Linked DNA regions of Homo sapiens: all the other regions are linked to region 3. Evidence: promoter capture Hi-C in 16 types of primary human blood cells and fetal thymus (Javierre and others, 2016). All regions are on one chromosome and are shown on one strand. The core of a region is centred on a gene start or on the middle of the fragment in contact, and the rest is flanking DNA. Distances in the headings are between cores, read along the strand shown.

What was found. Contacts are between HindIII fragments. The CHiCAGO score rates a contact against its expected background, and 5 or more counts as called.
Region 1: a contact is called between a fragment that was not itself captured here and the fragment with the promoter of LSM8 in region 3, in 1 of 17 cell types (monocytes). The highest score is 7.0, in monocytes.
Region 2: a fragment that was not itself captured here is called in contact with the fragment with the promoter of LSM8 in region 3 in 2 of 17 cell types (activated CD4 T cells and total B cells); the score reaches 6.7 in activated CD4 T cells.

Annotation. Positions count from the first base shown.
Region 1 is chr7:117,147,089-117,150,385 of GRCh38, reverse strand. The region is part of intron 9 of ST7 (suppression of tumorigenicity 7); the gene reads right to left. Among named protein-coding and RNA genes, the nearest start is that of ST7-AS2, 3.1 kb to the right of the region's middle. The HindIII fragment of the contact is 858 bases long and covers 1,151-2,008 here.
Region 2 is chr7:117,128,824-117,132,232 of GRCh38, reverse strand. It overlaps ST7 (suppression of tumorigenicity 7), which reads right to left. Exons shown (of 16, transcript NM_001369598.1): 4 at 2,386-2,440; 5 at 1,627-1,742; 6 at 273-348. The region is part of intron 2 of ST7-AS2 (ST7 antisense RNA 2); the gene reads left to right. Among named protein-coding and RNA genes, the nearest start is that of ST7-AS2, 15 kb to the left of the region's middle. The HindIII fragment of the contact is 1,301 bases long and covers 816-2,116 here.
Region 3 is chr7:118,182,778-118,185,883 of GRCh38, reverse strand. It overlaps LSM8 (LSM8 homolog, U6 small nuclear RNA associated), which reads right to left and starts at 1,720. Exons shown (of 4, transcript NM_016200.5): 1 at 1,630-1,720; 2 at 190-230. The coding sequence starts at 1,660. LOC105375470 (a long non-coding RNA gene) reads left to right here and starts at 1,916. Exons shown (of 4, transcript XR_927904.3): 1 at 1,916-1,969. The HindIII fragment of the contact is 4,305 bases long and covers 644-3,106 here.

The DNA of each region.
Region 1 (3,297 bases), core at 330-2,829, 1.0 Mb after region 3:
ACACTATGAAGAATTTTTAGGCAATGTAAAGCTTATGGAATATGGGTAACTGCATGAAAAGAGTGGACAACATTACCTCCTAAAATACTTTCAGGGAGAGATTCAAACAAAAAGGAAACAGAATCCCTGAGGACCTCAGCACTTGAAGGCATGAGGCACAGAAGAAGCCAGAGAACAAGACTGGGTTTAAGTCTATACCCATAGTGACTAGACACTCCAGTTTCTCCTTCCCACCTCAGACAACCACGAAACCAGGGATATCAGGCAGAGTGAGGGACTGAGCGAGGCCTGGTGCTAACAACAGAATAATTAAGGTGACAGTCTGGATAATGAACGACACAGCTCTGTCTCCCAACCTGATCCCAGAAACACTGGCAGTCAGGTGTATAGTCCACAAGGAAAAGACCTGACGATCTTTCCATGGAGGAAATGAACCACCACAGAAAAAAAGATCCAGGTACTGACATTTGAGGGCAGTGTGTGATTAAATGATAAGCCAGTTGCCCGGGCAACCACAAGTAAACCCTATCAGGCAATCATCCCTAGATAGAAACATACAGCCTCCAAAAGCTTTTTGGTGCTTGGTTTTAAATGTTAACATTTAGCCAAGGATAACTAGACTTCTGAAGTAAGTTCCTCCAATTAAAAAAAGAAAAAGGAGGAAAGACACAGTAAAAGAAGCAGAACCAAGTTTTAAGAAAAACAAAAAAACCACAGCTATCCATCCAAATTAGAATAAAATGTCAATGGGCTCAAAAAACAATGCCTTCAAAAAAAAAAAAAAAAAAAAAAAGGTAGGACACGGACAGTCAAGGTGATAAAATGAAATACTTGCATATAGCAAAAATTGGAGGGTGAGAATACCTCTACACACCTAAATGCCAGAGGAGCCCATCAGAGTAGGAGCAGAGAGCATCTCTCCAATGAAAACTTGAGAAGGGCCCCTCCTGACCCTCCATGGAACAATAAGAAATCATGAATCAAGAGTGGAAAATGGGACAGTGATACATTAAGCTGTAAGGACAGCCCACCTGATTTAAAGAAATGGGTGTTTAGGGGTAGGAAGGTCGGTGGTAACTATCTTTACTCTGTTTAGGCAGTAATGATTTTACTGGTGAAAGAGTAAAGATGTCCTACTAGAGCCTAAGCTTGTATTTAAATGGCTCAGTGGGAGGTCCCAGAAAGCAGGTTTGTGTACCTGAGGATTCTTGAGTCACAAAGGTAACTTCCCCAGGCCCAAGGAGAGGGCAAAGGCTAACCAGGGTATCTGCTCTTAACAAGCAGTAGAGATAGCGGTCCAGGAAGAAGGATATGATCAACGCTTTTGCATTGATTATTTAAAAGGGAAACCCAGGAGACCCAATTCATTGTCCTCCCTGGTCATCGCATGCATTGCTGGCTTTGCCTGTTTTCTGGTTTCTGTTCCTGGTGGCCCAGGTCTGAAATAAGTCTGTTTCCAGTGATCACCTCTCTGCTTACCCTAGAAATCAACAACTTCACTGGCTTCTGCTCACAGAAGCAACCCTGCCAGCCCAGCAGAAACTCAGACATCAGTGCTCCCCACACATCTCACAGAAGGAAAAGCTGTTCACAAATGTCCATGGTTGCCTCCTGATTTAGGGTGGGAAGCAGGGCACCATATGCTAAATTAATTCTATCATTTGGGAATAATTTATAGATATTGACATAGTGATAGGCTTAGTAACTGATCAAGAACCATAAATATAAGTATGGATCTTAGTGAGTTGGGAATATCAGAAGAATAAAACAGAAATTTAAAATGTTGAATCAGTGGAAGATATTTTCAATGGGAGAGAAAGTACGACATAGAAAACATGAAAGACAGCACACACGCTCAAAAAAAGCAGTAATTATTCTGTTACTCTCTATAAACACGAATGGGATAAACATAGCAATCAAAAGTATAAAACCCTCAGATTTGAATAAAGACAATATTCATCAAAAATTTTACAGATCCAAATGATCCATCAAAAACTTATAGGAAGCTTGATTATAAAATTTAGACAACAATAAACCAGTTAAATATGAATCACAATAAGTTAGAGTAGGTATTCTTAACATATGTTAAAAAATTCAAGGAAGATAAATATAAGAGACATTATATACTCATAATAACATATCAGTAAGTCATAATAATCACCAACATAAACGCACCCAACAACAAAACCTCAAAATATATAAAGGAACAAATAACTGAGCATGCAAAAAACAGATTAATAAACAGTTGGAGGTGAATATTCTATCACATTCTTCTTAGAAACTGATAGAGCAAAGAGACAAAATAAGCTGATATATGAGATTTGAATAATATGGTTTATAAGCTCAAACTAGTAAATACATACAAATCTTTATACCCAACAGGGATTATATTCCCTTCAAACACAGATATAACATTTATTAAACCTGACCATATGCTAGGCCTCAGGGGAAGTGACCATAAATTCTCCCCAAATCAATATCATATGATGTATGCTTTCTAAGCATAATGTAAAGAAAAAAATCAATCAATGACGAGGGGTAAAACATACTATACAGGGTAAAATGAAATTTAAAAGAAATTTAAAAATGCTTAGGATCAAATGGTAAAAAGGCAACAAACACAGAGGATAGAGGGGGAGAAGGATGAGGAGGAGAAGAAACAATAATACAAATATGGAAAGAAAAAACAGAATAAAAACAAAAAAGTTGAGGAAATAAACTAAACCTAATTGTTTTTAAAAGACTGGCAAAATAGACAACCTCTGCCAAGACTAATCAGGCAAAATAAGAGTAAAAACTAGCCAAATAAAATACAAAATGAAAAGGAAGAAAAAAACTACATAGTATTTTTAAATTATGAAATAACATCATGAAAAGCTATATGTAATAAATTTTTAAAATATATAAATATGTATATTAAATATAGACGTGCTTGAAGCAGAGCCTAGTACTGAGATACATGGGCATAGTCAGGTATTGCTCGTAAGAATTTAATCATAGGCAGCCATTCTGAAGAGTGAAATTGCAGGACTCACTGGAATCTAGCACGTATATAATCCCACAGCCTAATGAATGTTTCTCACATGTCTACAAGGATGTTCATTGCAGCACTGCTGGGATAACAGGAAGTTGGAAGAAACCTGGAGTTCCTTCACTAGAGGAAAGGTTAAGTAAAATAGAGTAAGAACACAACATGGAATATGATGCAGCAGTTAGAAACTGCAAACTAGATGCAAGAGGTACATAGAGCAAAAATGGACAGATTGAAAAACAGTGTTGAGTAAAACAGGGAAGAAG
Region 2 (3,409 bases), core at 217-2,716, 1.1 Mb after region 3:
ATTTTATATCCTCACAATATCCTAGGGATAGCCCTTCAAGAAATTAATTTAGGATCACAGCAAAGCCATTGAATTCATAAAATGACTAAAACCACCTCCACATGGTGGCTGTCCTTCATTTAAAAAAAAAACTTTTTTAAATAGAGTAATAACTCCCCAAATAATCCTCCAGTTCAAATGCAGTTTAATTTAAGTATCCTATCAATGGCAACTGAATATATTCAGCAAAGGATGAGATTTCCTTTTTAACAGCAAGATTTTCCCCCACTTACTCATTTATCTCCAAGGCTTCATGAGCTGCAGAAATCCTAGCTTGGGGGTTTCTCTCTCTCCAGGCTTTCTGCATTACTATTTAAGAAAAAGAGAAAACACCAAGTCAATCCATACATATAATTAGGTAGACTCAGTAGAGGACAAGAGCTAAATTAGGAGTGTCAGCTTAAATTACAAGAACATATTTCATTGCTAAGAGGGTTGGCCAAAATCTCCAAAGTCATATTAGTGTATTAATGTGCTATTCCACAGTATTTCAACTGCTGATAGCAAACCTTTTTTGTGCTCACAAAACTACAGGCTAAGGAAATCAAGAAAAGGCACTCTAACAGAGATTTTGCGTGTCTTTTGCACATTAATGTCATTTGTTCTTGGAGAATATATTTTATGCATTTTGAGATGACATTGCTACCAACCTTTTCATTCACTTAGATACAACATAATTGGTCATTTTCCGAAGCACTTAACACAGACTCTTGGTGTTAGAACATTCTGAAACCATTTCAAGAATTATGCGTGGGTCAGTAAAAAATGCTTAAGCTTTTGCTTAACATGTGTACTTATATCCCAAATTTACCTGCAAACCTAGCTTTTATACATCAGAGCAGTTTCTGAACATATGGTGGGAAGCTCAATGGGAATATTTACTGTACCATGATGTTTCTACCATAGCAAAGAGTACCATTTTACAAAGGAGTAACAATCTCCTTATTTATTTTATAAATTTGTATTTTATAAATTATTTTAGAGTGTGTAGAGGTTCCCTTTCAAAAACATTTTTTCACCTATTTACTTTGAATAAATTTTATAACAAAAAATTTCAGTTGAATTATCTGAAACTCAAGTAATGTAAAATACACACTAAACAAAGTATTTTCTCAGATGGAACACACATCTAGACTCCAATAGCCAAGGCCATGACCCCATTCGATGCTAGTTAACCTATAAATAGGCAAATAAAAGTCACTAAAATATATTCATTAATCATCTGAATCCAGTAAATTCCAATTTCTACTTTGAATATCATAAAGGAGATAAGGCCTTCATGCTAACTCAACCAAGAACTTCATTAGCTTCATATAAGATTCATATTTCTTTAAAATATATAAAACCAACTTCGATATATTTTTAAAAATCATGATTCAAATTATTATGAGGGGACTCATTTCAACATAAATACTTCATTGTGATAAAGGTTTACTTAATTATCAGAGTTCTGGGTTCTTATTAGTCAATCAACAATTTAATATTTTATTCATTGGAGTTTTACAGAGTGGATATTCTAAAAGCAGAAATCTTGACACTTAAGCCAAAAAGCCCTCCCATTCAGAAGGATGTATGGATTTTTCATACTTGCATCTGCGGGACGCAGATGGTCCGAGTCACAAGTAAAGAATGTCTGGTGGTCTTGGGCAGAGAGATTCATGTCATAGTAAGTAAGAGGCTCTCGTCCTGTCACCCAAGTATACCTGCAAAGGAGAAATAAGATGATTAGACACTTTTGAGAGAGAAAAGCAAGACCTATAAAATATTAAGCTGCAGAGGCGTTGAAATATAGACCATTAACTGAATACTAAAATAGCTTTGCTAATGAATAAAAAAAATTTTTAAAAATCATCTTATTCTCCCTTCAGGAATTATATCAGTCAAAAGAAATAAACATTTTCTCCTGTGTTTTTGTCTTAAAATTTACTAGCCCTTGCTAATGAAAACCTTCCCTAATTCATATTATGAATAGACACTTTCCTAAAGCTATGAAAATTCTAATTTGCCTAATTACTTTGCTAAACTAAATTCCAACATAACTTCTGCGACATCTCTATAACCATATTCCAGGTAAGCTTCAAAATGTTTTCAATGTATAGTATATATTGAAAAGAATAACTGTTAATACAAAAACTCTAAAAACTACACATTTTTGTACATTATCCCAAATCTAGTGCTAAAATATTTATAAAACAGAAAAATCAAAACATTTGAAGATAGTATTAAAAAATGGACGCACTACATAGACTGTTACAATGACCCCTAAATGAACCAGCAAAAACATTTGCTGCTGTCTTTGCTCTCTGAACCAGACCCATTTGTTTCCCAAGCTGTCAAAATGCTTACCGATTGTATTCAGCACCCCTAAATAAATTTAGTGGATTTCGCCATACTTTGCATTCTGCAACAAAGAGAAATATGAAAATGTTACGCGTAAGTTCAGTGACACTACAAGCTAATTAATTCAGCAAAACACCCTTCCTGCCATTTGATAAGATAATTCTATTCACTACCCTTTACATGGGAAGCAATGTGGAAAAACTCTGGGTGGTTAATCACAAAATGTGGCTCAGGCTCCGGGACTTTGGAAAGTTTTGCCTAATCTCTCTGGGCCTGAGTTTCCTCACTTGCCAAATCAAGATGCATGCCAAAATCAGCTAGTTCATAACTCCTAAAATTATTTCAAGAGGTCCAAACTGATTCTATGAATTTACTTCTAAAACCTTATAGATAAAAGTATAGGCAGAAGTAAAACTATTTTCTGTCAGTCTAAAACATACCTCATAATAACGTTGTACATGACAAGACAAACTATAGAGTATAATATGCAAACAGCCTTATAGTCTTAATTTGGGTTCATGCTAACAGTGATTTTATGATAATTTACCAGTTTGCTTTTGCCTTACAGGAAAGGAATAAGAAAATTAATAAGATTACCATATTGTAGGAAGAAATGCAATTAAAAGAAATTGTCTCAAAGCATTTTAATATCATTTACTTGCACAGATACATATACTAATCATCATACTAATATCATCATGTTAGCACATCCTAATAGGTCATACCTCTTTATTATACCAGGACCACAGAAATTTAGAACAAAAGGACTTTAACTTAGAAAAGCCAAGCATTAACTTTAAGACTGTGTTATAATGGTAAGCATATGACTAATAAACTACAATTCTTTTAAAACAGTCTATGATTAAGACTTTCTACTGATTCAGAATACTAGATTTTGGATGAATAAGATTTTATTATAAAAAAATCAGTTAATAGTATTCAAAACATCTATGTGCGTGTGCAACCAGCAAAAACCACATCCAACAACATATGTACAAAAAAGTGAGCAATTATTGCAGAAATCCAAAGG
Region 3 (3,106 bases), core at 471-2,970:
TAGGTAACACACAATGTTTATTAGTGAGGAAAACATGGATTGACAGCAAAGTGATAAAGAGCTGAATTATAATAAAATTGCACTACGGGTGTAATGTGCTGTCTAGGCATTAGAGATTAGAGGTTTCACATAAAACTTGCAACCAATAAACCTACAGGAAAGCAGAGAATGAAAATTCCAAAGACTTACCACAATCATTCTCCCATCTGATGTAATAACGGCAACAGTTCCTGATAACTGAATCAAAGAAAGTGTTTCTTAGGGAATGCAAATTGAAAACAGACTCTGGCAAGGGAATGATTTGAATTTTTAGAATAAATATGACAACTAGGTATAAGTATTCAACACAGCCACTAAGTTCACTACATAAAAACGTTAAAAGTTTCTTAGACGCCAAGGCAGGAGGATCACTTGAGGTGAGACCAGCTTGGGCAACACAGCGATACCCCCATCTCTATTACCCTGGCCTGGTGACCTATAGTCCCAGCTACTCAGGAGGCAGAGGCAGAGGCAGGAGGATTGCTTGGGCTCAGGAGTTCAAGGTTGCATTGAGCCATGATCAAGCCACTGCACTCCAGCCTGGGCAACAGAGTGAGACCCTCGACTCAAAAAAAGAAAAAAAAAAAAAAACTTAAAAAAAGCTTCTGTTTTTGTCTTTGTGATAATTACATGATTAAAAAAGGGAAAAAATAGAAAAAGAAAACCTCTTTCTGTATGTGATCGGTGTATCTTATCTCAAAATATCCTGGATTTTTGACACTTTTCTACTAGGAAGGTTACCAATCTATTATTTCAGGCAGGATATTTCGTTTCTTAGGCCTGTTTATTTCTAAAATGAAAAGTGGATGAGTACTAAATTAATCGATGTTGGACGATTTTCCAGCATGTTAAAAAACTGTCTTCCAGGACAGGCTTCTGTAATTCAAAAGTAAAGAAACTATATAAGCAGTGTCACAGGGTACCAATAACGCATCATTAAAAGCATTCGGTATTTAATTTTTGTCACCCAGTTTGTACCTGAGCTTAACGTAGTGTTTTTGTCCTAAGACTTTAAAACGGTAACACTTGTAAAGTCTATTTTAAGACTTCCCATGGGGTTGTTACTTGCTCCTCACTATAATCCATTACAACAGCAACCATTTTTTTTCATTCTACCAACAAGTTGGGACTTCAAGTGGTAAAGGGACAGAAACAGTCTGTGAACCATCGTTAAACTTTTTGCTATCCTCGAACGAGCAAATTATGTGAATAAAACAAGTACAAAGATTTGCAAAACTGTTGTCGCCGCCAGGACGACTGTTCATCTTATTCACAAACTTTAACACTTATGCCATAGGGAAATAGTAAGTAAGAATCAAGAGCGTACATTTTTTTTAAGACAGAAAAGTTCGGAATAATCACACTGGGTTTTTATTTGGGTTTTGCAGGCAAAATGGAAAGGACCCCTGGGCCCGCAGCAGCGGGAAGGCTCGAGGCGCCGCCGGCGAACTCTGGGTCGTTCCGGGGCCCTCATCTCCTCGCCCGCCCCCAGGATCCCGCCGAGGCCAGGCCTCCCAACCTCCCACCGATCCCCGACCGCGGCCTCTCCGCGACCCCGGCTCACGCCCGCGGCGGCCAGCTTGAGGATACGGTTGATGTAGTTCTCCAAAGCGGACGTCATGCTGTTCGGCCCGGCGGTTCCGGGTAACGCAGCGGTGCCGACAGCAAGCAGAACTGAAAGGGCGCGCCAGAACCCGGCAGCGGATAGCGCCTGCGGGTCGCAGCAAATATCGTGAGAGTTGCTGCTCCGCAGCCCTGTGAGTCGGAAATTGGGACGAACTGGCCAACCAAACAGAAGCCGCACAGCGGTGACGAGAGAGTGCGCGTGCGCAGTGTGTTTTCTCTGTAATTCTGGGCCGTGTTCCGGAAGCCTCGTAAGACAAAAGCGAACGAGAGGCGGAAAAAAGGAAGACGCTTCCTGAAGTTGGGGGTATGAGACAGAAGTTGGGGGTATGAGACAGAAGTTGGGGGAGAGTGGGTTTCCAATCCGAGTAAAAGGCAGTGTGGTGGAAGTTAACAAGAGAAAATGTTGAGACGAGGTAGAGCAGGCAGGAATAAACGAAGTAAGGTGTTTTTATTAGGAGTGAAGGAGAGAGACGAGTGCTGTTGTGTGAAACGTAGGTGCGGGTAGTTGAATCCCTAGTTTTCTGCAGCAGAAGCCGAAAATAACGCTAAAAATAAGTTCAGTTGCCCGGGACAGAGTTGCGCACGTTATAACCACACGGTGTACGCCTCTTAAGAACTCAGCAGTGAAATACACTTTCGTATGTTCTGCTTTTGTCTCTAAAAGTGTTCCAAAATGGAGGTGTTTTTACTTTTTAAAGAAACTAAATGCAAATAGGCAAAGGTGTGTGACCATCCCTTAGAAAACGAATGTCCACGCTTCTGCCACGCCAGGATGGTCTACCTTTCTTCAGGGTGAAATTAGTAAGTAAAAGGCTGCTGCAGCACCGAGAAAGGACCGATGCAGGAAGGATGCAGGAAGGCACCAAACTTGGTTCTAATCTTGGCTCTGCTAACAAATTGGTGTCATTGCACAGGTCACTTCAATTCTTCTGGGCCTCAGTTTCGTTAGATAGTCCCATAGGTATCATTTCAGATATTTCCCAATGCGATACTGTTCCCACTTCATTTACTGTTGCCCTAACTTGAGAGAGCTTGAAGTTAGAAAGAGATTTATACACAAAACACCAGCAGGAGCGATTTCCCTTTTTTGCAAAATATCTTTATAATTTCAGTTAAACATGTATTTTCTTAAGATTTGTGGCTTTGTAATAACTCTTGCAATGTCAGCAGTTTTCCTCGGAAAAGGAAGCATTTCTTAATTAGAGCATACCCACAAGATACTCCCAAATAGTTAATATTTTATATTCTGGAACTTATTCCTATCTGTTTGAAATCAAATGTAGTCAGGAATTAGATTGTGAATGTCTCATATTCTCAGGGTAACAAATGAAAGTGTCTTCCGCTAATGAAAGAACAAAGATAATTGTGTGATTTGCAAATGTTAGGTGTTGAACCAAAACCCAAAGACTAATTAATGATTAACGAGGTGTTAGGAGTTTTG